Regions from separate parts of the Homo sapiens genome. Here regions 1, 3 and 4 are each linked to region 2. The links are contacts of gene promoters, found by promoter capture Hi-C in human tissues and cell types (Jung and others, 2019). All regions are on one chromosome and are shown on one strand. Each heading gives the region's core, a stretch centred on a gene start or on the middle of the fragment in contact. The rest is flanking DNA. Distances are from core to core; before and after follow the strand shown.

Evidence for each region. Contacts are between HindIII fragments. The study calls those that stand out against the background at their distance.
Region 1: a fragment that was not itself captured here is called in contact with the fragment with the promoter of CYBRD1 in region 2 in 1 of the 25 tissues and cell types used here (small bowel).
Region 3: a contact is called between a fragment that was not itself captured here and the fragment with the promoter of CYBRD1 in region 2, in 1 of the 25 tissues and cell types used here (liver).
Region 4: a fragment that was not itself captured here is called in contact with the fragment with the promoter of CYBRD1 in region 2 in 2 of the 25 tissues and cell types used here (heart right ventricle and mesendoderm cells).

The regions. Positions count from the first base shown.
Region 1 is chr2:171,244,449-171,250,868 of GRCh38, forward strand. It overlaps LOC107983995 (a long non-coding RNA gene), which reads right to left. Exons shown (of 3, transcript XR_923576.2): 3 at 185-559. Among named protein-coding and RNA genes, the nearest start is that of TLK1, 87 kb to the left of the region's middle. RefSeq lists an enhancer at 1-1,054. The HindIII fragment of the contact is 4,689 bases long and covers 1,413-6,101 here.
Region 2 is chr2:171,519,934-171,526,371 of GRCh38, forward strand. CYBRD1 (cytochrome b reductase 1) reads left to right here and starts at 2,541. Exons shown (of 4, transcript NM_024843.4): 1 at 2,541-2,805. The coding sequence starts at 2,613. RefSeq lists an enhancer at 2,630-2,739 and silencers at 2,850-2,959, 3,110-3,179. The HindIII fragment of the contact is 9,103 bases long and covers 1-5,856 here.
Region 3 is chr2:171,194,800-171,201,481 of GRCh38, forward strand. It overlaps a transcript of TLK1 not described here. Among named protein-coding and RNA genes, the nearest start is that of TLK1, 37 kb to the left of the region's middle. The HindIII fragment of the contact is 3,807 bases long and covers 1,604-5,410 here.
Region 4 is chr2:171,050,681-171,057,763 of GRCh38, forward strand. It overlaps TLK1 (tousled like kinase 1), which reads right to left. Exons shown (of 21, transcript NM_012290.5): 6 at 5,791-5,886; 7 at 4,403-4,492; 8 at 3,081-3,173. Among named protein-coding and RNA genes, the nearest start is that of TLK1, 110 kb to the right of the region's middle. The HindIII fragment of the contact is 3,750 bases long and covers 1,692-5,441 here.

The DNA.
Region 1 (6,420 bases), core at 2,507-5,006, 270 kb before region 2:
TTTGATCAAACACACCTACAAAACAAAGCTTTGATAAATACTCTTGAACAGTGAAATTTAGAGAGCTTCTGGGTTGGTAACATTGATGTGGTGGGAGAGTGGCACCGTGGAAGAGGACATGGAAGTGTGACTGTAACAGGTTCCTTACCTAAAGCATGGCAAGTGGACACACTGACCTCAAGGATTGCAGCAGAGAAAGGGTTTAATAATCATAGGGCATCTGAACAAGGAGATGGAAGGAAACCTCAGATTTGCCTCCCTGAGGAGTTTGTAAGGGGTTTGGAGTGGGCTGAGGTGTGGGGATTGCAGGGTGAAGTCATGGACTGGAGAGATGAAGAAACTGCATTCTCATGTTGATTCAGCTCTTCTGTGGGGATTGCAGGGTGAAGTCATGGACTGGAGAGATGAAGAAACTGCATTCTCATGTTGATTCAGCTCTTCTGTGGGGATCCTCAAACTGGTTGTGGATGTCAGCTGTTCTGCTGGAATTCAGGATCTGAAGAACATCTTAAGCAACTCTTAAACAAAAGCCTCATGATTCCAACATCCGAAATCCCATCTATAGAAACAATGTGGATGCAAATGGTCAGTATCCAGTGCTATGTGACTTTCAGTTACAAGTAAGTAGGCCAAAATGCAGCCTATAATTAAGCCTCATGCTTAATTATAACTATATTTCTGTCCAGAACCTGGCATGAAATTCTTGTCAACTCTGTGATTGAAACCTCCTTTGCAAAGATTATGACAGTGAGAGAAATCTAACATGGCTGACTCCATCTTGCTTCTAGTCTCACAGGCTGGCTGTCTTTGCTCATTCCTGGGGATAGGCCAAGGTAACTGCGAGGAATATAGTTCATAGTTTAAAGCAAGAATGAGAAGAGTCCCTCCCTGAAACTGATCCCTTGTTTGTTCAGGGACTGAAACTGCCTTTGTAATGGGAGGGGCCTGACTTCTGCCAAAATGCAGGCATAATTTCTCTAATCTCTTACTGCTCAGGAGTCATGTGGCCAGAGGTCACAAATCTTGTGACTTCCCCAATTGCTCCTGTAGGAAACATCCCTGTTGTGGAACCTAAGATTGGTCTTTTGAGATGTTTTTCAGACTTTTGCATTCAGGCAACTGATTAATTCCAACTGGACTGGTGACTTATGACTCAACCAATCCTGTAGCCCCACCCAGAGGCAGACTCAGCACATAGGGACTGTTTTCCACACTCTTATGCTTTTATTCCCCAACCAATCAGCAGCACCCATTCCTTAGCCCCTGCCTGCCAAACTATCCATAAAAACCCTAGCCCCTGAGTTCTTGGAGAGATTGATTTGAGTGATAACATCCGTCCTTCTGCTTGGCTGTCTTGGGTTAATTAAGCTCTTTCTTTACTGCAATACCATGGTCTCAGTGAATTGTTTTGTCTGTGCCGCAAGCTGGAAGCACCCGTTGGGTGATTGTACAAGGACAGTTTCAGAAGCTCTCCACTTCCTTTCTCCCGCAGCCTTGCCCTATGCATCTCTTACATGTGGCTGTTCCTGAGTTGCATCCTTTATAATAAACCAGTAATCACAAGCAAGGTGCTTCCCTCAGTTCTGCAATTTGTTCTAACAAATTATCAAACATGAGGGAGGGTGATGCGAACCCCCAAATTTGCAGCCAAATAGGATAGAAGTGTGAGTAGCCTAGAAACCCAGGAATTCTACCTGGCATCTGAAGTGGGGGCAGTCTTGTGGGACCATGACTTTAACCTGTGGGGTTTGCACTAACTCTGGGTAGTTAGCATCAGAGTTGAATGGAATTGAAGAACACCCAGTTGGTGGGAGATAACTGGTGAATGGATGTTGGAACAATGTGTTGGAAAAGACACTGTAACCACCCAATGGTTTCACTTTGCCCACTGCCTAGACAGAGCTGATTTCTAAAGACAGGGGCATTGTAACAGAGAAAGTGTAATTCACACAGAGCCGGCTGTGTGGGAGACCAGAGTTTTATTATTACTCAAATCAGTCTTCCTGAGCATTTGGGTATTCGGGGATCAGAGTTTTTAAGGACAACTTAGTGGACGGGGGGAAGCCAGTGAGCTGGGAGTGCTGATTGGTGAAGTCAGAGATGAAATCTTAGGGAGTTGAAGCTGTCTTCTTGTGCTGAGTCAGTTCCTGGTGAGGAGGGGGCACAAGATCAAATGAGCCAGTTTATCGAACTGGGTGGTGCCAGCTGATCCATCAAGTGCAGAGTCTGCAAAATATCTCAGGCAGTGATCTTAGGAGCAGTTCAGGGAAAGTCAGAATCTTGTAGCCTCCAGATGCATGACTCCTAAATCATAATTTCTAATCTTGTGACTAATTTCTTAGTCCTACAAAGGCGGTCTAGTCCCCAGGCAAGAAGGAGGTTTGTTTTGGGAAAGGGCTGTTATCATCTTTGTTTTAAACTATAAATTAAGTTCCTCCCAAAGTTAGTTCAGCCCATGTCCAGGAATGGACAAGGACAGCTTGGAGGTTAGAAGGAAGATGGAGTCAATTAGGTTAGATCTCTTTTGCTATCTCAGTCATAATTTTGCAAAGGCAGTTTCAACACCACACATTTGGTGTCAGAAAAAACCCACACATGGATATATGCAAGGTTAGGATCAATTTTTCCCCAGTTGGTTAGATGATGCCACATTGTAGCACTTGTCACACTATGTTGAACTGCTTGTTTCCTTGTCTGTCTGTTCTATTAGACTGTGAGCACATGGAAGACTAACATGGGCCTTAATGCAACTTCATTCACATACCAGGGGGAAATCCAGGTTCTGCAGGCCTGAAGCTTACATAGTTTGGGGAAGGAAGGATTTTTCAAAAGAATACAAAATTAGGTATGAAGAAATCACAACCAATTACAAGTATAAAAAGCTAATAAACACAACATCTATGAAAATGAAATGTTTTTCTTTATTAACTGCCTGACACATCTCTATATTTTTCCTACTTTTTTGGCTTGTCTTCTTCGATTACCTCTTTCTTTTTCTTTTCTTCCTATTTTTTTTTTTTTTTCTGAGACAGAGTTTCACTCTTGTTGCCCAGGCTGGAGTGCAATGGCTTGGTCTCAGCTCACTGCAACCTCTGCTTTCTGAGTTCAAGTGATTCTCCTGCCTCAGCCTCCCAAGTAGCTGGGATTACAGGTGTGCACCACCACACCCAGATAATTTTGCATTTTAAATACAGACGGGGTTTCACCATGTTGGTCATGCTGGTCTCGAACTCTTGACCTCAGGCGATCCACCCGCCTCATCCTCCCAAAGTCCTGGGATTACAGGCATGAGCCGCTGGGCCCAGCCTTCGATTACCTCTTTCATATGACAATAATTTATAAGATCATTTCCTATATTGAATAGAAAGGTCGTTCATGCTTTTCTCTAGCATGGTTGATCAACATGTTTTCTAATATTTCCTAGAAAAGCTTATTTCAGTTCCCCAATTCATTATTGCTAAGTCATGTAAATTTTTACAAATGCTATCAAATTTTGGAAACCTCTACCAAGTGTCTTACATAGATGGGTTATAACATTTCAGGGCATTTCAAATTATGACACAGTGACTAAACTTAACTGTTCTTTGTATTGACCATACTCCTATTAACCAGTGTATCATCAATGCCCTGCACCATCAGGTCACAACATCAGATGACTTGTCATGTTGAAGAGTACAAGTATTCCTACCAGCCATTCCTAAGCTGGGATGGCCAGCATAGCTTAACTATTTACAGAAATGGCTGCCCAAACACATAAACGTATCCCACTAAAGCCCAAATAAATGTATTCCTAGCCCAAATTACCTTAGAGGAATCTCAAAATGACTGTGAATCTCCAATGCCACTAGACACAAGGGAGAACTGAAGTAAAGAGGAAGTCAAAGTGGAAAGAGATAGTAATCTTAATCAATTGTGGTTAGAGTATCTTACCTCTGCAAATTTTGCAAAAACATATGACCACATAAATATATCGCTAGGTGCCTTCTTGGAAGAGGCACATGACACTGAGGGTCTTTGAAGCTGAAGCTTTACTGGCTTCATGTCAGATTCCTGCCTGCCTCACACAGTACTGGTCACAAAACAGGTACTTTACAAGTATTTGCAGAGTGCACGAATGAGAGTTCATCTGTGTGCAGTCTGTCGAACGGCAGTAATGATAGCATGGGCAGGGAAGGAGTGAGTAAGTGCTTTGAGTCCATTACCCTAAGTCAGGGACTGCCTGTGTCCTTTCCTTTTAAAATTTGTTCCAATGTAGTAGAAGAAATACAAGGTTCCTCTGGTTAAAAACAGTGAAATGATTAAATCTTTACAGCTCTGAAAATAACTTTTGCAGCACATACCTCATAGTCTGTCCTTGCTGCCTAAAAGCAAAGAGAGCTGGCAAATCCACTGGGTAATAAGGAGGCCTCCAACCTCCCTGCCGCCTTCATTTTGAATATCCACCCCCCAACTCCGCCACCCCGCAAGTCACTTTGCCTCAATACCCTGACAAGCATCTTGATCATTTGGGGGCATTCTTTAGAAACTTTGATATGAAAAGGCCTTTCTCATCTTCAGATCAGTGCTTAAGTTCTACATTCATCAAATACAAAAGTGAAAAGAAGCTTTTAAAAATGTCATTGGCACTCACAGGCACCATCAGGAGAATGCTTGCACAAACTGTTTAGGGAATATTTCTGATAATAAGAAGCAACATTTCCAAAATTTGAAAGAATAACTTTAAGAGTACATATAAAAACACATTCCATTCTAATAATTTGGGCTACTGATATCCTACCTAAAAAACAAGCTATTTGCTAATTTCACAGAGTATGGTAGAGGTCAACATTGCTGTGTGTCTTATTTTTCTCTTATAGTTTCAGTTCTGAGTTGTGCCCCAAGTTGGAAATTATGGGAAAAGTGTTGTGACTTAGCTGGGAGTCAGAAGTGAGCCTCAGAGTTGGCTAGCAGAAGCAAATTTCACAAAGTTTGAGAAAACTAAGTTCATAGAAATAGGTTATAGAATGGATAAGGGGTCACAGATAGGAGTGCCAGAAACACACCCAGGGTAGACGCCAATTGTGTTGGATTTATATTTGCAGTTTCTCCAATATTAGGTAGTCCCCCACCCAACTAAAAATTCCACATAAGAGATATTTATTATTCTTGGGGTACTACTCAGCATCTGAAACTTCTTCCTATGTTTGGGGAATCCTACTTTATGAGTCTTAGTGGGAAAAAGTGCCTACTTCCCACTTCAGAAGCAGAAAATGCCAGATCTTCATTTCCCAGCTCCCTTACTGGAAGGTGGTGTTATACAATGTGGGCAAAGCCAATTAGAAATATCTGCCTTCGACTTTGAACCAGTGACACAGGACATAGATACTGCAGAGAATCCTGTTGTTTTTTTTTTCTTCTTAAATCAGCCAGAAGTAGTTTCTGTCATGTGTAACTTGTGACCAAATTATAGCTTCTGACACCTTGGTCACAAGTAAAATGCTATTTTAGGGGGCCTGAAGGGCACTTTGAAATCCTGAGTAGTTCCCTTTAAGGATTCAAATATGACTTTGGGCTGCATTTTAAATTTTAGGCTGGGTGCAGTACCTCATGCCTATAATTCTAGCACTTTGGGAATGAGGTGGGAGGATGGCTTGAGCCCAGAAGTTCAAGACCAGCCTGGGCATCAAAACAAACTCTGTCTCAACTTAAAAAAAAAAAAAGCCATGTGTGTTGGTGTGGGCCTGTGGTCCCAGCTACTCAGGAGGCTGAAGCAGGAGGATAGATTGGGCCCAGGAGTTGGAGACCTCAGTGAGCTATGACTGCACCACCACACTCCAGTCTGAGTGACAGAGCAAGATCTTGTCGACATCTGTTGGGATCATTGATCTTCTTAGTAACAGTGAAACTGGAGCAAGTATTAGGAATCTAATTTTACAGCTTAGGAAAATGAGGCACAGAGAGCCAAAGTGCCCTGTCCAGGTGACAAAACTCATTTAATGGCAAAGCTAGGGATCTTGATATCCAGTCCTGTGATCTTTCTCTTCTTGCCTTCATAAATCTTTTTTTTTTTTTTTTTGGAGATGGAGTCTCACTGTTGTCACCCAGGCTGGAGTCAGTGGCTCGATCTTGGCTCACTGCAACCTCTGCCTCCCAGGTTCAATAGATTCTCCCGGCTCAGCCTCCCGAGTAACCGGGATTACAGCTGCCCACCACCATTCCTAGCTAATTTTTGTATTTTTAGTAGAGATGGGGTTTCACCATGTTGGCCAGGCTGGTCTCAAACTCTTGATCTCAGGTGATCTACCTGCCTTGGCCTCCCAAAGTGCTGGGATTACAGGCGGTGAGCCACCACGCGCAGCCTCCATTGTAAATCTTTATCATGCAGGCAAAAGAAAAGCAGAGAGAAAGATGCATGATCAGAACTCAATTCATATAAAGATC
Region 2 (6,438 bases), core at 1,291-3,790:
AGTGGCGTGGGTAGGAAGTGGTCAGAAGCTGCCAGAGCAGTTTACAGCCAAGGACATCAGGGCCAGTCAGGTTGTGGTAAGAGACTGGCAGGGGGTGCTAGGCTGGACCAGATCAAAGAAAGCCTTGTGCTGGGGAAAGGTATCCTTCTCTTCCATTTGCTTACTCTCCCCACCAAGGGAAAAATAATGACACAGGTGAGGTCTACAGCCTTTTACTCTGAGCCCTTAATCCTGCCCTACTACCATGGCTTGCCACTCCTATTTCCTTAGCCTGCTTTGAAAATCATCCCCGTATACTTCCTGCACATTCTAAGGTCTTTCAAGACGGCAACAAGACAATATAGCAAAGTAGTCCTTGGAGATGAGCTACAGAAGAGGGCTAGAAGTGAACGTTCCCAAATGCATTCTGGAAGCCCTGGCAGTCAGAACCCTTTTTCTTATAATAGCATTAGATAATGCTGACATTGTTTTTGTCCAGTGGAGAAGGGTGAGGATAATGTTGGAAAGAGGGCAGGGAGCAAGCTTCACTTCATCAAGGAGGGGCTTTGGTTCAAATTGGTTTGGGTGGGCGGGCACTTTGAAAATCCATTTGTCACACTAAACGGCAAGTCCAGGTCCAGGAGGTTCCTGTCTTCCCTCTCTCAAGAGCAAACTGCAAGTAGTTTCATTGCAGGATAAGGCCAAGCCCACCGCTGCCCATGCTGTTTTTGTTTTGTTTCCAGACAGAGTCTAGCTGTCACCAGGCTGCAGTGCAGTGGTGCGATCATACCTCTCCTGAGCTCAAGTGATTCTCTTGCCTCCACCTCCCAAAGCCCTGGGATTACAGCTGTGAGACACCTCATGGGGACCCGGTTTACTGGGTTTTTTTTGTTTTTTGTTTTTTGTTTTTTTTTGAGACAGAGTCTCACTTTGTCACCCAAGCTGAAGTGCAGTGGTGCAACCTCAGCTCACTGCAGCCTCGACCTTCTGGGCTCAAGTGATCCTCCTTCCTCAGTCCCCCAAGTAGCTGGGGCTACAGGTGCATGCATTTGTATTTTCAGTAGAGACAGGGTTTCACCTTGTTGCCCAGGCTGTTCTCAAACTCCTGGACTCAAGTGATCTGCCCGCCTTAGCCTCCCAAAGTGCTAAGATTACAGGTGTGAGGCACTGCGCCTGGCCTTTACTGTTAACTTAAAACAAAAAATTATAAATTTGAAAAAAGAGGAGACTTTATTTCTTATAAAAGGTTATAGCCTGCAAGGAGGCCATTCCATAGGCTGATAAACATAGCCTCTGGCCTAAGACCAGAGACAGGCACTTGGAAGGCAGAGGGGTTGGGGTAGGAGCTTTATGCTGAACAGTTTGGCCAAACATACATACGTAACAGGTTACAGGAGGAGCTATGAATATTAATGGAGGTGGTCCTTACACATGCATATTGAACAAACATGCATGTAACATGTTCTCTTTGGGGTGGAGACTTAACATTTAATTGTATTACTTCAAATACATTTAAATGTATTACTTCAAACCTACACTTCAAAAGGTCTTTTCAGGACGTGAATGCATACAAGTGCACAATCCCTGTACACTGGCCAGAACCGGTCCATGGTCGGTCTTCTTATCATGAAAAAGTTCCTGAAATCAGCCCAGTGAAAGCTGTAGTTCTGGCTGGTGCAACAGGGGTTCAGCTGGTCAGCATCTGTGAACTGATTAAGTTGTAATTGTTTTAATATTGCTTATCTCAAGCCAGTGCTTGTTTAGCCTCTAGAGGAAAAGAAAACCTTTGTGGCAGTTAGACCATAGTTTATTTCTTAAGTGTAGGAGTGTGTGACTTAGGTCCTTTTTATAATTTGATGTCTTATTGCTACAAAGAGTCTGTTCTGTCCGCCTTATGATTTCTATTTTAAACATTAATGCTAGTCAGCTGTTGAGTCTAAATTCCAAAATGGAGGGGGTAGACTTCCCTTCCGGCTGTAGCTAGAAACTCAGCTTTAAGGTTTTTCTGGGGTCTGCTTGGCCAAGGAGGTCCATTCAGTCAGTGAGGGGCTTAGGATTTTATTTTTAGTTTACACCACCTTACAGGTTCCTCCTTAACACCCTTTGATGTCAGAGACAGCCAATTCTCCAGCACTGTGGCTAAGGAGGCTTCGTTAGTAGTTAAAAGCACACACATAACCCTACCCAACGGATCCCTCTCTTCTCTTAACCAAGAGGGCGCACCACTGCCCTACTCAACCTCCCCACAAATAAGGACGAGACACGGGAAGTGTTAAAAGCAAGTGGTGAGTATAAAATCCTCGGAATTTTCTCTTTGAGCAACTAACTAGGTCTGTTACTGAAGCCCTCTGCGAGCTTGGATGCTGGACGAGGGAGAGGGTGAGGCCACCAGGCAATGAGCGCCCTCGGCGGCCGCGTGATCCCGGGGGTGGGGCCCATTTCTGAGTTGGGGCCAGCTCCCCACCCCCAAGAGGCCCCACATTCCGGGCCAGCAGCCCAGAAAGTCCCTCCCCGCAGGCGGAGACAGCCCCAAGAAGTCGACGCCCCGGTCCCGCCGCCCGGCCACTACCCAGAGGGCTGCCGCCGCCTCTCCAAGTTCTTGTGGCCCCCGCGGTGCGGAGTATGGGGCGCTGATGGCCATGGAGGGCTACTGGCGCTTCCTGGCGCTGCTGGGGTCGGCACTGCTCGTCGGCTTCCTGTCGGTGATCTTCGCCCTCGTCTGGGTCCTCCACTACCGAGAGGGGCTTGGCTGGGATGGGAGCGCACTAGAGTTTAACTGGCACCCAGTGCTCATGGTCACCGGCTTCGTCTTCATCCAGGGCATCGGTACTGGCACCTCCTGGGGGGGTGCGGGGAGGAAAGCGGGGAGAACGGCGGGGGCAGAGGGTCCTCCGTGAAGCCCCTTCCAGCTGAGGAAGTGCTGGAGGATCGCGGGGCCCGGAGGAGTGCGGTGAGGAGCGCGCGGGAAGCCAAGTCGGCTGGGCGGGAGGGAGGCTGGCTGGCTCTGGGGCGGGACAGAGCTGCGGTTCAGGAGGATCGCCGCGAGCGCGGGGCCGGGGGTGCGCGGTGGAGACGCGCTGCTGGGGGCGGCGGAGCGGGGCCGGCCCCACTTGGTTAACTCTTTGCGGCGACTGGCTAGGACGCACTGGAGGGGCCTCCAAGACCCAGAAACTTGAGCCCGGGCGCGATGCCGGAGCGCCGCGCAGTCGGGCCGCTGCAGCCCACGCGCCCCGGAAAGTCGCCCCTGTGGACCGAGCCTGCGCGATCGGGGGCGCGGAAACACTTTCGCCTCAGCCTTTTGCTGAACTTGCTTCCAGGCTGCAGATGAGGAGGGGAAGGCAGCGGGGAAAAGATTGCCGGAGCGAGAATTTGCCCGTATTTGTAACATCCTCGGCCCTGGGTAAAGGGGCTGGCCAAGGGGGGCGAGTGAAGCATCCGCCCTGGGTTCCTCTCCTCCTAGAGTGTTAAACTCAGTCGAGTCCGGGAAGCTGCCAGGACTTCCAAGTGTGTTTCGCCGCCCTGCCCAGTCATTGGACGGTCTTGAGCCCGACTTGTTTATGTGGCAGAAGAGTGGCGAAAGTTCCCCCGCGGGGCTTCCTATTGGGCACTGGCCCAGCACTCCGGGTGGGAGATGCCCGGAGAGGGCCCGCGGCTGCCTGGCACCGAGGGATGCCTCTGCTCGGGATGCCCCCGGCGCAAGCTGCGTCCGTGTTTGGCCCGCGGCGAGCCAGCCCCGGGCCTGCATTCTCTGGGCTGAGGCTGGCGCGGGGGAGGGGCTCAGCAGTCGCTGGCAATGTTTGTTGTCATTGTGTAGTGCCTCTCAATGTCCTGACTGCTTCCTTCGGTTTGCCGTGTAGCTGGAGGAACCTCTAGCTTTTGGCGCAAACACCATTTATTTGTAACCACTTCCCCAAAGGCACGGCCTTCAGAAAGTAGTTAGAGAAAGGCAGCAAGGGGTGGAGTGGTGTTATGTCGCAGAAAATAATCGAGAGGAGTAGCAAGGGTTTGGAAAGATATGCCCACTGGCCGAAATCTCTAGCTTTGCCTGCGGGCAGGCTGCCTTTTCTTCACCAAATATTTAACTCCCCACAAACGAGTGTGCAAAAGAGTGCTGACCTCATTCCTAAAGAAAAGTGATTTTGGCTTTTGTTTTTGTTGGTTGTTTTAAACTTGTACTGCAGCTTTGGCAAGTGTGGCCAGCATTCTCCCACTCTGGAATGTAGTGGAAGGTGTTACTAACCCTCAGCATTCAAAGGCTTCCCTGGTGTGAGATCGGCATCAGGGTGTGAGATCGGCATCAGGGTGTGAGCACCACTGGGCACCTAAGGCATTTCGTTGCGTAACTCTCAGTTATTTTGCCACTATGCTTATAAGAAAAAAACATACTCAAGTTCCAAAGTAACTGTCAGAAGCACTCTTTCCTTCGTGGTGGAGCCCTTAAGTTTGGCCCCGAGCTGTCTACACCTTGTTTGCTCAAAGAGTAGAGCCAGTCTCCTCTTCTACCCAACTCTTCAGAGCAGCTTCTAATACCAAAAAGCTTTCTGGAGGTCTTGGAATATCTTCTCATAATTGAGGGTAAGGGAAACACAAGTGTTATTGCTCGTTGCCTGACTTGCCACAGAGGAGAAGACATCAGAATGGCTAATAGTGATTGCATGCTGTGTGTCCACTAAGTGCATTATGTCACATCACATGTATGTAAGAGTAAACTGAGGCAGAGAAGTTATGTAACTTACCCATGAAAGTTGTTTTAAGTCTTTTCAGTGACCTTATCGTCAAAGTTGGATTCTCTGCTTTTATGGCAATATGCTTATTTTCTGCCAAATCTTTTTAGACAGCGAAAACCTTCATCTAAAATATGTTTTGAAACTCTTCATTCATGTTAGAGTCCAATATACGGTTTTCTAAAAGGTTTTTAAATTTCTCTAAACTTTGTACTTCTCTTAATCTGTTCATACTTAACTCTTGGACAAAAATGTGTAAATTTTGGCAATTTTCATCTGCTGCTCTTACGAAAATCTTGTTTCTTTTTTTCTTTCTTTCAAGACGTAGTCTTGCTCTGTCGCCCAGGCTGGAGTGCAGTGGCGCAATCTTGGCTCACTGCAACCTCCACCTCCCAGGTTCAAGCAATTCTCCTGCCCCAGCCTCCCCAGTAGCTGGGATTACAGATGCCTACCACCACGCCCAGCTAATTTTTGTATTTTTAGTAGAGACGGGGTTTCACCATGTTGGCCAGGCTGGCCTCGAATTCCTGACCTCAAGTGATCCGCCTACCTCGGCCCCCCAGACTGCTGAGATTACAGACGTGAGCCACAGTACCCGGCCGATCTTGTTTTCTTTAGGTTCAATTACTGTATTTGTATCAATGGTCCAGAGTTTGTCCCGTCATTACTCATCCTGTTTCCTGTTTGGATCCTGGATGTGCAAATCACTTTAATCATAATGCATTTAATTGACATGAGCATAAATGTTTTCATACATGTAGGCACATGTATAGTTCTCCCCAGTTCTTCCATATCTTGGCCAACCCATCCACATTCCTCACCCTAAGTATTAGGAAGGCTCCAGTGGAAGGAGGGGGAGTAATAAATAAACTTTATAGGCTGCGAGGGACCCACATGTTACAGACTCGCCATGTTATAACAGACTTTTTTACCGTGTGTGATTGCTGCAAGGAGGAAAATTTTAGGCTATGAGATTTCAAATCTCTAACAAAGAACACGATGTATTGGAGTTCTTCTCTTCTGTAATACACAAATATTTGGAGATGAAGAAGAGAAGGCTAAAGTACAGTTATTACTCTAAGTATAAAATGCTTTAGAAATGCAATATACAAATAGTAAACAATATTTGAAACTAAGAACAAGTATGAGTCCTTTGAAACACCTTTAAGAAGTAGGCTCTGGGCCGGCACAGTCCAGCTACTTGGGAGGCTGAGGCAGGAGAATTGCTTGAACTCGGGAAACGGAGGTTGCGGTGAGTCGAGATCTTGCCATTGCACTTCAGCCTGGGCAACAAGAGCGAAACTCCCGTCTAAAAAAAAAAAAAAAAAAAAAAAAAGAAGTAGGCTCTGGCCGGGCACGGTGGCTTACGCCTATAATCCCAGCACTTTGGGAGGCTGAGGCGAGTGGATCCCCTGAGGTCAGGAGTTCGAGACCAGCCTGGCCAACATGGTGAAACACTGTCTCTACTAAAAATACGAAAATTAGCTGGGCGTGGTGGCAGGCACCTGTAATCCCAGGTACTCAGGAGTCTGAGACAGGAGAATTGCTTGAACCTGGGAGGTGGAGGTTGCAGTGAGCCAAGATTGTGCCACTGCACTGTAGCCTGGGCAACAGAGTGAGATTCTGTCTCGAAAAAAAAAGAGGGATAAACTCCAAAGAAGCAAAGCTAACATAGAAGTTACAAAACAAATCTCCCTCTCCTTCTTTATTCCCCTTTCCCTTTCTCGCTCACCCT
Region 3 (6,682 bases), core at 2,257-4,756, 320 kb before region 2:
GAGCGAGACTCCGTCTCAGGGAAAAAAAAAAAAAAAAAAAAGTAAAAGCCATTGTAATTATTTTTCATTAAGAGAAAAATTCATTTGGTTATATTAGAAAAAAGAGGGAGGATTGAAACACAAGGTTCTTGGCAATCACTACACGAATCACTGCTCTGCTCATTCACTGCTCCTTTTCTAACACAGCCCTTTCCTCAATCAGTTCAAAATGCAGAATGTCTGTGGCTGGCAAGTTGAAGTCAGCAGCAAAATTTCTCTGATATGCATTTTCGTATACTTGCTGTCAGTAAAGATTCAACTAGTGAAATCCTTCAAGCCCTCAACCTTAAAGATGTGAAACACTCTTCACAACTGAAAACACCCTTTTCCTGACAAGATGTCAGACACTAAGAAGAATACAGTACTTGTATAAAACATAATCCGGCCGGGCGCGGTGGCTCACGCCTGTAATCCCAGCACTTTGGAAGGCGGAGGCGGGCGGATCACGAGGTCAGGAGATTGAGACCATCCTGGCTAACACGGTGAAACCCCGTCTCTACTAAAACTACAAAAAATTAGCCGGGCATGGTGGTGGGCGCCTGTAGTCCCAGCTACTCCGGAGGCTGAGGCAGGAGAATGGCGTGAACCTGGGAGGCGGAGCTTGCAGTCAGCCCAGATGGCGCCACTGCACTCCAGCTAGGTGACAGAGCAAGACTCTGTCTCAAAAAAAAAAAAAAAAAAAAACATAATCCACCATGGATAAGCTCTATATTTGAATATATATTATTTTCTACTGGGAAATAATGAAGTATGTCCTTGTCTTTTGTTCCTGAAATTAAGTATATTGTTACTAAATCATCAACACTGTTCATTTTGTAAAATATTGTCTTCTTACATCTCATTTTGGTGGAGCATGTGGATAAACACCTAAAATGATTACATTTATAAGATTTTCTGTTGAGATCCCAATGAGCTAAAAGGCATTGTAGGCCAGAAGCAGTGGCTCACGCCTGTAATCCCAACACTTTGGGAGGTCGAGGCTGGCAGATCACCTGAGGTCAGGAGTTCGAGGCCAGCCTGGCCAACATGGCAAAACCCCGTCTTGCAATGTTCGTGTGTGCCTGTAGTCCCAGCTACTTGGGAGGCTGGGACTCACCTGGGAGGTGGGAGACTCACTTGAACCTGGAAGGTGGAGGCTGCAGTGGGCTGAGATTGCACCAGTGCACTCCAGCCTGAGTAACAGAGTGAGACTCTGTATCAAAAAAAAAAAAAAAGAAAGAAAGAAAAAGGAAGGAAGGAAGGAGGAAAGGAAGGAAGGAAGGAAGGGAGGGACATTGTAGCTGGTTTTTTTTTTTTGAGATGGAGTCTCACTCTGCCTACCAGGCTGGAGTGCAGTGGTATGATCTTGGCTCACTGCAACCTCTACCTCCCGGGTTCAAGTGATTCTACTGCCTCAGCCTCCTGAGTAGCTTTGAATATAGGTGCCCACCACCATGCCCAGCACAGTTTTGTATTTTTAATAGAGATGGAGTTTCACCATGTTGGCCAGGCTGGTCTCAAACTCCTGACCTCAGGTGATCTGCCCGCCTCAGCCTCCCAAAGTGTTGGGATTACAGGCGTGAGCCACCACACCAGGACTTGTAGCCAGAAATGGTGAGACCTTTTCATTTTATTTAAGTGTAATGTGGATAATTGTCTCCTGGTAATTAGAAAACATCAAACTCATGGGGATTTTTTAAAAATGTTCTCAAAAAATTGACATGGTTACTTGGTTTGCCATATATCTATATGTTTTTTCTATGTCCGCTCTCGCAACCCCTTCCCAGCTACATGGACAGAGGTTACAGAGAAGTCAGTGCAGAAGAATGGTGAGCTTGGGCATCCCTTCAATGGGCTCTAAAAACTAAGCAGTTTGCAAGGGAAATACAAAAAAATGGTATGGTATCTGAAGGCAGCAGTCTGGAGGCCATTGTCAGCCTGGTTCTATGAGAGACTTCACAGTGAGTTTGCAAAGAAAGTTGAAGACAGATTGGGAGGACTATTCCATCAAACTTAAGCATTAGTTACAAAAGTAACTATGCCTATATGAATATAGCTCTAAAAACTTAGTAAGGTTATTTTATGTTTTGCTTTGCTTAAACTTACTTTCATAGTCTTTTTCAAAGTAATGAGCATATAGCTAGAAGCTACATTTCACGTAAGTCATAATTTGGGCCTTTAGTTGGACTAGAAAAACGAAATGTTTCTTTCCTCCTGGAAGCAGGAGAACCCTAAGTGTGGGGAAAGTACAAAGAAAAAAAATACTCAGTAGCAAACTTTGAAATCTAAACTTTTGTAAAGTAATAATATTATTGCAACAGTGTTATGTTTTGTGTTATGGTCTAATGGTGGTGAAAAAAATAAGGAAAATATATGATAAACTTCTAGGTTTTTAGAAAAGCGCTCATACATTAAATTTTCTTATACTTGACAGATAATCTCTGAATATGAAAAGATTTCTTATTTAAAAATGAGAGAGAAAAAAGCATTTGAGGAAAAGGAAACTGGTTAAATAATATTTTCTTTTATATAGCTTTTTACAAAAAAACCCGAAAATACCCCCCAAAAGATAACAGTACAGAACTATAGGCACAAATATAAAACATTCAATAGTATTCAATGTGATGTTTTCAAAGTGTTATCAAGGGACTACCTGCATCAGAATCACTTGGAGCATCAGGTCAGGCACAGTGGCTCACGCCTGCAATCCCAGCACTATGAGAGGCGGAGGTGGGCAGATCACTTGAGGTCAGGAGTTCGAGACCAGCCTGGCCAACATGGTGAAACCCTGTATCTACTAAAAGTACAAAAATTAGCTGGGCGTGGTGGTGCACGTTTGTAATCTCAGCTATTCAGGAGGCCGAGGCAAGAGAATGGCTTGAACCCGGGAGGCAGAAGTTGTAGGGAGCCAAGATCATACCACTGCACTCCAGCTGGGGTGACAGAGTGAGACTCTGTCTCAAAAACAAAACCAAACAAACAAAAAACAATAAAGAATCACTTGGAGGACTTGCTAAAATGCAGATGCTTGGGCTCTACTCCAAACTTCTAAAATTAAAATGTGGGGTAACTAGGGGTTCCAGAATCTGCATTTTTGGCTAGTACCCTTATATGATTCTTATAAGAACACTAAATTATGAAACAACTGCACCAGACAAAGTTTCCTGTGGATAGACATGATGTGTCCATTTTTGTATCCTCAGTACCTACCCTGGTTTCTGGCCTAGAGTAGATGGTCAATAAATGTTTACATGAACAACTTGCATAGGGGAGATGGTCTTTCTCCTCTTAATCATAGTTTAAATCCAAGCATTTACTAAGGAAAGTATCATCTACGTTCTATAGTTACCAGAGGTAAGCAAGAACAGAGAAAAAAAATGATAACGGTAAAGAAACATGGGCTGGCCAGCTGGAAATACATTATAAATGTATTTGACATGCATATTTAATGTGTGATATAAATGTGTAAGCGCATTTAATATTCTATAAATGTGTCAGCGCAATTAATTATAGCATGAAGCTTTTCTGCTCAGAGGCATCATTTAAGAAACAGCAGTGGTTCAACATGGCCACTATATCTCAATTGGAAAAATAATGTAAAATATTTGCGTCTTATGGATGAGTAGAATAATTTTCAATAGAAATATTAGCCCATTCAAAACTGCAAGGAAAAAAATCCAGGAATGAATGTGACAAAGTAGAGGATTGGAGTGGATTTGGATAGATGTATAAAAGAGCCATTAAAACTATTCAATTAGCAGGTTGTAAGAGCAGCTGGGACTAGATAGAGTTGGTGGTTGGGTTGGCAGTGATGAGAGTGGGAAGTTAGACAAGCATCCAAAGATGTGTTAGAAAAGAGGCCTGATTGACTAAAGGATGGAGATGAGGAATAATTATAAACGGCCTTTAAACTCTGCATGGTGAGGAAATTCTGACTCTGATAAATTTATCCTCCAATCTAGAAAAGCAAATGTTTGCTTGTTTTAGTTCTTTACTGATGATTATTTAAGACCTTTCCTATCTATTTACCTGTTGATCAATTTTAAAGTAAGTTTTATTTCCCATATAAGTACTTTATTTAATAGATTCAAATGAACAAAGCATGACTTTGACATCACCAGAATCACATTTTTGGTAATATATAACATGAATTATTAAAAGTAAAACTCAAGTCCTGTCCATCCAATAAGTTTCTAATGAAAGAACCATGTACCCAAAATTTGTTTTTCAAAAAAGGGAAAGGATTGTTTTCCAAAGAGCCATCTGTAACTAAGTTGTTTGCAGCTTGGAAGTAATTTATTTTAAAAGTAGTGTTATATTAGGAATGTGCATGTGTATCTGCCAGATCAGTTTTCTAGGCTAGCCCATAAAATCATGCCAAGGTCATTCTGAACTCAAAACTCCCCAAGAGCATCAGGTGCAGTGGCTCATGCCTATAATCCCAGCACTTTGCAAGGCCAAGGTGAAAGGATTGCTTGAGCCCAGGAATTACAGACCAGCCTGGGAAACATATGGAGACCCTATCTCTACAAATAATTTAAAAATTAGCTGGCTATGGTGGCATGCACCTGTAATCCCAGCACTTTTGGGGAAGCTGAGGCAAGAGGATCACCTAAGCCTGGGAGATGGAGGCTGCAGTGAGCCGTGATCACATCACCACACTCTGTCCTGGGTGACAGAGTGAGACCTGGTTAAAAAAAAAAAAAAATCAGAAACAAACCACAAAGTGCAGAGTCTGTCTGAGCCTCTGAGCCTTGAGTCCTAAAGCCCAGAATCAGTCTGAAGTTCGAGGGCTCCCTCAGCCAGTGGATCTTCCTATAAGTGTGTGTTTGGGATGGGGCACAGTCAAAGTAGTAAATCCAGTGGTCCCTTTTGCTGGGGAAAAACTTTTCAATTATGGAGGAGGGTCATATTACAAATTCGAAATAGAATCTGAAAATTTCAGAGCCTAATTTACTGAAAGGTTTCTGCAAAGTAGAAATCAAGGAATATAATGTTTGATGTTTTCATGTCTTTGTCATACGGAATACTGGTAAGCAAATAAACTCAGATTTTGTTGATATTTTCAACAGAGCAAGTGTAAGGTAAAAAAAGAAGCTTTCCCACAATAGATCATTAGTAACTGCTGAGCAGAGGGCACACCTTTGACATGGCTTACAATAATGGCCAATGACTCAAGAATTCCCTTTTCTGGAAAACAGGGAACCTCTAGCATAAATGTGAGAGACTGGATGGTGAGGCCAAGCAAGAGTTTTTTCCCCTGATTAAATCATAACCAATACTATTAGAAAATAAAGCCCTGTTTACACATAAACATAAGCAAATTGTGTCTTTGGAAAACACGGTAGAAATAGAAATTGTGGCGTTTCCACTTTCCCCTCCCATCAAGATACTATTTGTCAGCATTCCACAGTTATATTACATTATTTAAAGTGTGCTTTGCTTCATCCTTCAAGTGCTTGTTTTTTCTACCCCCCCATCCTGTGTTGTTAAATTTCAGTTGCGTGATATCATTACTTAAAGGAGTTTAAAATTTTGGTCTGTGCAACAACAATGGTTTGGAATTATCTTTATCATATGACTATCTGGAAGCCATGGTTCCTTTCTTTGAACTGTTAGAATGACTTGCGCAGCCCACATTTTACAGTCTTGCCGCAATGTATTGGGATCCATTAAGGTAGGCCTAAGCTTAGGAATTTAAAATTCAGGCAAGCTAAATAAAATTGGATCAAAGTCAAAATTATTTGGAACCTGGGGATGGTGGTGCATGCCTGTAATACCATTTGCTCATGAGAAGGATGTGGGAGGATCAAGCCCAGGAGTTCAAGGCTATAGTGTGCCATGATAGTACTTGTGAATAGCACTACACTGGGCAATATAGTGAGACCCCATCTGTATTTTTACAAATTATTTGGGAGATTCATATCAGGTCCTTTTAAGTCTTAATTAGCAACAGAAATATATTAGAATCAATCAGATTTTAGTTTGTATTATTTTTATTAATCTAAATCATTTAAAAATTGCTCCTGACAAGTCAAATTAGGCACTTGGCTCAGATCCCTTCTTTTTTTTTTTTTTTTTTGAGACAGAGTCTCTCTCTGTAGCCCAGGCTGGAGTGCAGTGGCGCAATCTCAGCTCACTGCAACCTCCACCTCCCGGGTTCAAACCATTCTCCTGCCTCAGCCTCCTGAGTAGCTGGGAATTCAGGTGCATGCTAACATGCCCAGCTAAGTTTTTTGTATTTTTAGTAGAGAGGGGGTTTTACCATGTTAGCCAGGATGGTCTCAAACTCCTGACCTCAGGTGATCCACCCACCTCAGCCTCCCAAAGTGCTGGGATTACAGATGTGAGCCACCGCACCCGGCCTCAAATCCCATTTTTATATTATCTGTCTTCCTTACCCTAAGTTCATCACAAAAGTTTTTACATTCATAGAGTATGTTTGAGATTAATTTTAAATTCATTTTATCAATGCTTGTTAATTACTATTGAAATGCCATCTCATTATTTACAGATTTACACTTAATATTTTGTCATCAATCGTTATGAAGCATCTTTGAAATTACTAGAGAGCTGCCATTTATTAAGAGCCATACTATCAACATGAACCCTGCCTGACCTCACTTCAGAGCATTTTTGAGGACAGCTGTGTCATGTATCCAGC
Region 4 (7,083 bases), core at 2,317-4,816, 470 kb before region 2:
ACTGTCCTCACCATTCTTCCTTAGCAATAGGATACTAATTCTGTTCACTTTGTAGGTGGCCATATGCTCAGAGAAGAGGCTTCCTTCTAACATCAAAAGATGAGTCTGATTAGTACAGTGGCAAGAGAATAACCTATAGGGCTTGTTACAACAGATTACTGGGAACCATTCCCAGAGCTTCTGAATCAGGTCTCAGGAAGGACCTGAAAATTTCCGTTTCTAATAAGTTCTCCAGTAATACTGATGCTCCTGGTCTGAAGATCACACTTTGAGAATCAAAAGTCTAGGCCAACCATGGTGGAATCCACAAGACAAGGGCACAAAATCTTAAAAGTGCTGAGAGAAAAGAATTGCCAACCTAAAATTAGATACCCAACACAGTTGTTTTTCAAGGAAGAGGAAACAGAATTTAGCACCAATAGACCCTCAGCAATTCAAACAAAATCTCAACACTGTGTGTGTATGATGCATATGCAACTTGAAACCTGATTCTAAAATTTCTCTAAGACTGTGAAGGGCCAAAAATAGCCAAAAAGAAGAAGAGGATATCTGTTTAACCATGTATCATGACTTAACATAAAGCTACATAACTATGATCACCCAAGCCTCCTCCTTCCTTAATAATGGAAATTCAATGTTTTATCCTGGATTGCTATCTGCCTAGCCAAATGACTACAGTTCCCAGCTTCCCTTAGAGCGAAGGATGGTTAATGAGATGCAAGCAGAAGTTGTTCAATGAGATATCCAAGAAGGCTGCACACAGAATTGTGCTTTGTGTTCTCTGCTCCCATCCTCCCTCCTGTTATCTGCTTAGAACACAGATATAATTGTGACCCTAATAGATATATTGAACCTTGATGTGACCTTTGAGATATAAGCCATGAACTAACAATGACAAGGTCCCTTATGATACTGAGGAGTAATAATATCTGAGCTGCCCACTTCTGTTCTTCTCTTGAAAAATAAGCTTCTATCTCATCTGAAGTACTGTTATTTATGTTCACTGTTACTAACAGCCAAAAACAACTGATAAAAATTGTTTTATCAACAATGATAAAAAGATGCTGCAGTACTTGTGTAGAGACACAAACAGAACAAGGAAACATGATACAGAACACAGAAACAGATCCACCTGTATACTGGAAACAAGATTTTATGATGATAGAGCTGGCAGTATAAGAATGAGCTTTTAATTAAATGGGGATGAACAACTGGTTATCCATATAGAAAGAAATTGAAATGAAACCCTACATCATGCCATACCCAAAACCAATTTCAGTAAGACTAATAATTTATATTGAAAGATCAGCTGGGCATGGTGGCTCATGCCTATAGCCCCAGCACTTTGGGAGACCAAGGTGGGAGGATCACTTGAGGCCAGGAGTTCAATACCAGCCTGTAGACTCCCAGCTCTACAAAATAAAAAAAAATCAGCCCGGAGTGATGGCATGAGCCTGTAGTCCTAGCTACTTGGGAGCCTGAGGTAGAAATATTGCTTAAACCCGGGAGTTTGAGGCTACAGTGAGCTATGATCCCCCACTGTGCTCTAGCCTGGGCGACACAGTGAGACCCTGTCACTTAGCGGGGGAAAAAAAAGACCAGACCAAAAAACCTTGAGAAATAACTGGTATTATACAGTAAAATGGAAAATGCGTATGCCCTGTACTCTGGCTATGTCTTTCCTAAACATATACCACAGAAAAATTCTTTCATATGTGCCCTGAAGACATGTACAAAGAATGTTCTTAGAACTGTTTATACTAGAAAAAGTAGAAATAAAATGTCAACTAAAAGCAGAAAAGATACAGAAATTATGGTATACTTGTAACACCTTACAATATTGCAATGAAATGAACAAACTACAGTTATACTCATCAAAGTGGATGACTCTCTGATATATTTCATTGAAAACAAGCTGGGCAAAAGGGTCCATACTGGAAAATTTCACTTAACGTTCAAAAACCAACTGAAATAATATGTTGTGAAGAATGTAAGCACATATTTAATACAACCATAAAGAAACACCAAGGCATCACAAATACAAAATTTAAAATAGTGGTTAAATGGTAAATGGGTGTGAGAAAGTAAATATGACAGGATCAGGAAAAAGACACACTGGATGTTTTAAAGACACTGTCAAATACAGTAGGATCACAGGTGTTGGTTTTATCGAGTTTCTACACCAGTAGTTCTCAATGCTGTCTTAAATTAAAGTTATCTGGGAGAGCCTTTAAAACTACCAATGTCCAAGACCTACATCATCATCAACTTGATCAGAACCCCTCAGGGTAGAGTTTCAGGCATTAGTACTTTCACCCTTCCCAACTGGTGAGTCTAAGGAGCATCAAGGGGTAAGAACTGCTGCTTTAAACCCTTACATTCTTAAGTATACTTCTAGATGTATTTTTAAATAAAGCTTCCATTAAAAATCCTACAGAACTGCAGCAGTTACTTCATCGTATAGGTATCAGATGTCAGGCATATAATAAAATCAATAAACTTTAACATGAAATGGCTATTTGTGTTATGGTAGTTGGTCATATAAATGTTATTAACTTCCAGTTCTCCAACAGTTTCTCAATTCCCAATTTATTGAAGATCTAATAAAATATTTCACTTTAAAATTGGTATTTTTCAATCATGTACTTAAACTAACAGAAAAAGCTTATTGAGTTCTAGCTACAGAATTTTTTTTTTTTCTGAGACAGAGTCTCACTCTGTCGCCAGGCTGGAGTACAGTGACGTGATCTCAGCTCACTGCAATCTCCACCTCCCGGGTTCAAGCATTTCTGCTGCCTCAGCCTCCCAAGTAGCTGGCACTACAGGCACGCACCACCATGCCCAGCCAATTTTTGTATTTTTAGTAGAAACGGGGTTTCACCATGTTGGCCAGGATGCTCTTGATCTCTCAACCTTGTGATCTGCCCGCCTCGACCTCCCAAAGTGCTGGGATTACAGGCATGAGCCACTGCGCCTGGCCTAGCTACAGATTTTTTTACAATGCTAAGTATTTTCTGAACAGTTTGACTGTTGCCAAATAATTTATTCAATTTTTTTCCCCTCTATGACTCATTACTTACCCTGAGCAAATCATCTATACGTCCCTCCTTCTTTTCCAGGTCCTGGATTTTATTACTTTCTAATGCTGCTAATTTCAGCATTGTGAGATCAGTCTAAATGAAAAAAAGTTATTTTATTATCTCCATTATATATGTTGTTTCAAGCAAACATAAAACTAGATTTTACTCCAAATTCAAAAGGTAAAGAAAAATATATTTGTGTGTATATGTAAAGTGAATCTCAAAAAGTTTTAGTGCAGTTTTAATAACTTCAAGTGTATAAATGCTACAGACTTACCAAGAAACATCTAGAAAGGCCAATTACTTAGAATACTGATGTTCCTCATTATAATTCAATATATCCGCTGCTTTGTGCTATACGTTCCTCTAGTTGATTTTTTTGAATTTTGCAAGACCTTTTTTAAATTGATAAGTAAAAACCTATCTATTTATGGTACACAACACGATGTTTTGATATATGTATATACAATGTGGAATGGCTAAATCAAGTTATTTAACACATATCTTTTTTTTGTGGTGTGAATAAAATCTACTCTCTTAGCAATTTTCATATACACAAAATATTGTTTTTAACTGTAGCCCCTATGATGTATAATAGTTCCCTTGAACTTACTTTCCAACTAAAATTTTATGTCCTTTGACCAACATCTCATGCAGCAAAACCTTTCATGATCTACTCAGTGGCTGAAAGGAATGTACTTCTAATCCTAGCCTCAGGATCATCCAAAGAAAGAGGTTTTGATACATGCACAACAGTTTGGATATGACCTCACAAATACAGTCTAATAGAAATAAACTGTCAAGCTGAGCTTGAAGAGTAAGATCTACTCTCCCAAACCCCAGTCTGAGAAAGTGCCACTCAGAAACTGTCACATGTAAAAAATTAAAATGAAAAACTTAGTGCTCAAATTCATGAAACTAAATAAGTATAGAAAATATACAAATAATTCAAATAATGTTTATAATTTGTCACATATACGTATTTAATAAATACAGTCAAATGAGAGGCTTTAATGTCCACTTCTAAAAAATACAGCAGTTTCACAAAATATCAATTACATATACTTGGAAATTAAGTTCAGAAAGAATCAGTAAACAGAACTGACATGTTAACGGTTGTTTAAAAAGCTGATAGTAAATTGTGTGTTTCAGTTTCTCACTCCTTCCTACAAATTCTGTTGTTTTTGTTTAGTAAGTTATCTTTCTTGATGTGTAATTCTGCTTTATGACTACATATAAAACAAACAGACATCTTAGTTGTTAGTAAGTTAGTCAATGGTTTCTTAGAAGCCATAGAAAAAAACATTTTAATTATCATTTACCTGAATAATTTTAAAGGATAATTGCTTTGGTTGTACAATAGGGTGGTCCCCAAATGCTAATGCAGTAGGAGAAGGGCTATTCGGTCGAACCTAAAGAAATTATTAAAATTTTTATATTAGCAAAAAAAAAAAAAAAAAACACAAAACAAAACAGATTTCTAATTAGCAACAATTACTTAACATTTCTGAAGAAGTTTCTATCAGAATAATACCTAAATTGAAACATAATTGACTTTTAAAACCTTTAATCACCATTTATTCAACAAGTGTTCATTAAGTACCTCCTACATAAGACCCAGTGAGAAATACAACAATATATTCCCTGCCCTCATAGAGCTTACATTCTAGTGCCATAAAAGAAATCTTAATGCTTTCATACAGTTAAAAAAAAAATAAGGCCAAATAAATTATTCTGAAAAATATTAAACAATGATTATGATAGTTGAAAAAACAAACTTACTAGGGACAATAATACACGCCCATATGTAGTTTAATATCAATTTATCAATGAATTTCATAGTTTATCTGGTCACTAGTTCAAAAAGACACTCACTGAAAGCAGATTATAACATTGTATCAGCGCTATCACTACAACTCTTAGTTACTGTTGAATCTTATGCCTTACTTTTATACACGGCAATGTGATATCCTGAAAGGTACAAAATGAGTAAAACAAAACCAAGTATGTCTAAAGACAAAGGACAAGAAGGGGACACAAGACATAAAAACAAGATGTTTGAATAAATAAGTGAAACTCTGATTTTTAAAAATCTTTAATTCCTCTTTAAATTACTGAAAACCAATATTGTTTTTCTAGTTAGATATTGAACTTTCACACAATGAAAGTAAATTTAAAAATGAAATCCAATATGCAAAACAATGCATATAAAAGAACTATATCTAAAATGTTATGAAAAAACCAAAAAGTTTAAGATAATTTTAAGTCCATGATTCTTTTCCTATACTGAACTACATACCCTGCCTTTTTCTTAAGGATTCCCAGAAAGGAATTATGCTATCATTTTAGTGGTTAAGAAATTCAATTGTTAAGAAAGTTATAAATTAGGAATCAACAACTGAATACAGACTGATACAAGAGTACTCATGTTAGTCCCACAGACTCAACAGGCATTCTTTTAACATAAACAATGCTTCTTGGATATAATTAATTCAGAAAATCTTTAAGAGGCTCACTTCCAGAAATAAAATTCCAATAGCACCAGATAACTTAAAAGGATTTAATTCATGTCACAGAAATAATGTATTAAAAGATAAATGCTAACTTATTTATATAGAAGTTCTCAATAAAAAACAACAAATTATAAAACTTATTCAGTGTACATAACCCTCCCAAAGACTACACATGAAAAACTTGAAAGATGACTTACAGATGAGGAAGGAGTGGAATGTGAATGTGAATTTTGAGGAGAACGGATTGCAGGAGGTATGCCTCTTACTGGACTTGAGCCATTTCCACCCTGGTACTGAGTAAAAGAAAAAGGAAGCATTATTATTTACTAAAGCAGGCTCAGACAGTTATTTCAGATATGACATTAAGAATTAATCTAAATATACCTAATTTTAAAATAAGTAGTCATTTAAATGGGTCCAGAACAAAAAAAAAAAACACAAGGTCAGCCAAGTCCTAAAAGACTAAGAGACTACTGATCACAAGAACATGACGAGACTGTTTTATAAAGATCCTTATTACTCTATATTCTGACTATCATCTGTTATTTTGGTCAACTCAAAGACAAATAAATTCCTCCAAAGCAATAAACATATTTTGTTTTCCCCCCAAATCTTAGCACAGGTCCCCTACAAATGTTTATTGAGCCATATAGTCCCTAATCCCAAGAAATTTCAAAATGTTTACCCATAGACCTTAGTGAACATAATCAACTATTTTAAACAGAATATCATTCTCAAGATACCCAAGTGTTCATGGCACTATATAAAAAGAATTATAATAGGTCCCTTCCCTCTAACAGCACAAAATCTTTAAAAAATCAATTCTTCTGTACAAAGTGCATGACTTAGCTGCATATGAAGAGAAGCCAACTGATCTATTCCATAGCTATCTTTTCTCCTATTTCAAGTTCACATACGAAGGATGGGAAAAGAAAATAACTTGCTGCAGCAAAGTTCCTCTGGGGGTGTAGATTATTGTCCATTTCATCATTTCTTGTTTAATTACTTTACTTACATGAACAGCACAGATAGGAACTTCCCAGCATGTTCATTAAACAACTTCCTGCAACCTAGGGATTTTGCCTTATTTATTTTATCAATAGAGCCTAGCATAAAATTTAGCACATAGTAGGCATTCAAGAGACATTTGTTGATTTGAATTCATCGTACCTTTGGCAAAGGTTCTTAATTAATGATATCAGTAAGTGACTGACCTCAACCAAAGAGCATCAGGTATCTCATGGTCAGCAACTGCTTTACTTTAGATTTTACGAACCCAAGAAAGAAAGCAGTGGTGGAAAAAAAAATCAGTCCTTCCCTTAATCAGCCAATTCTGCTCTCTCAAGTAAACATAAATATTTTTCAATTGAGTAGACCATGTTTGTTGTTTTAATAATTACACTTGATAGTAGAAAGAATTCTCAACTAGAGAGCCAGTGAACTTTAACTTCTATTCTTTACTCTTCAATTCAGACTTTGCCTTAAATGGG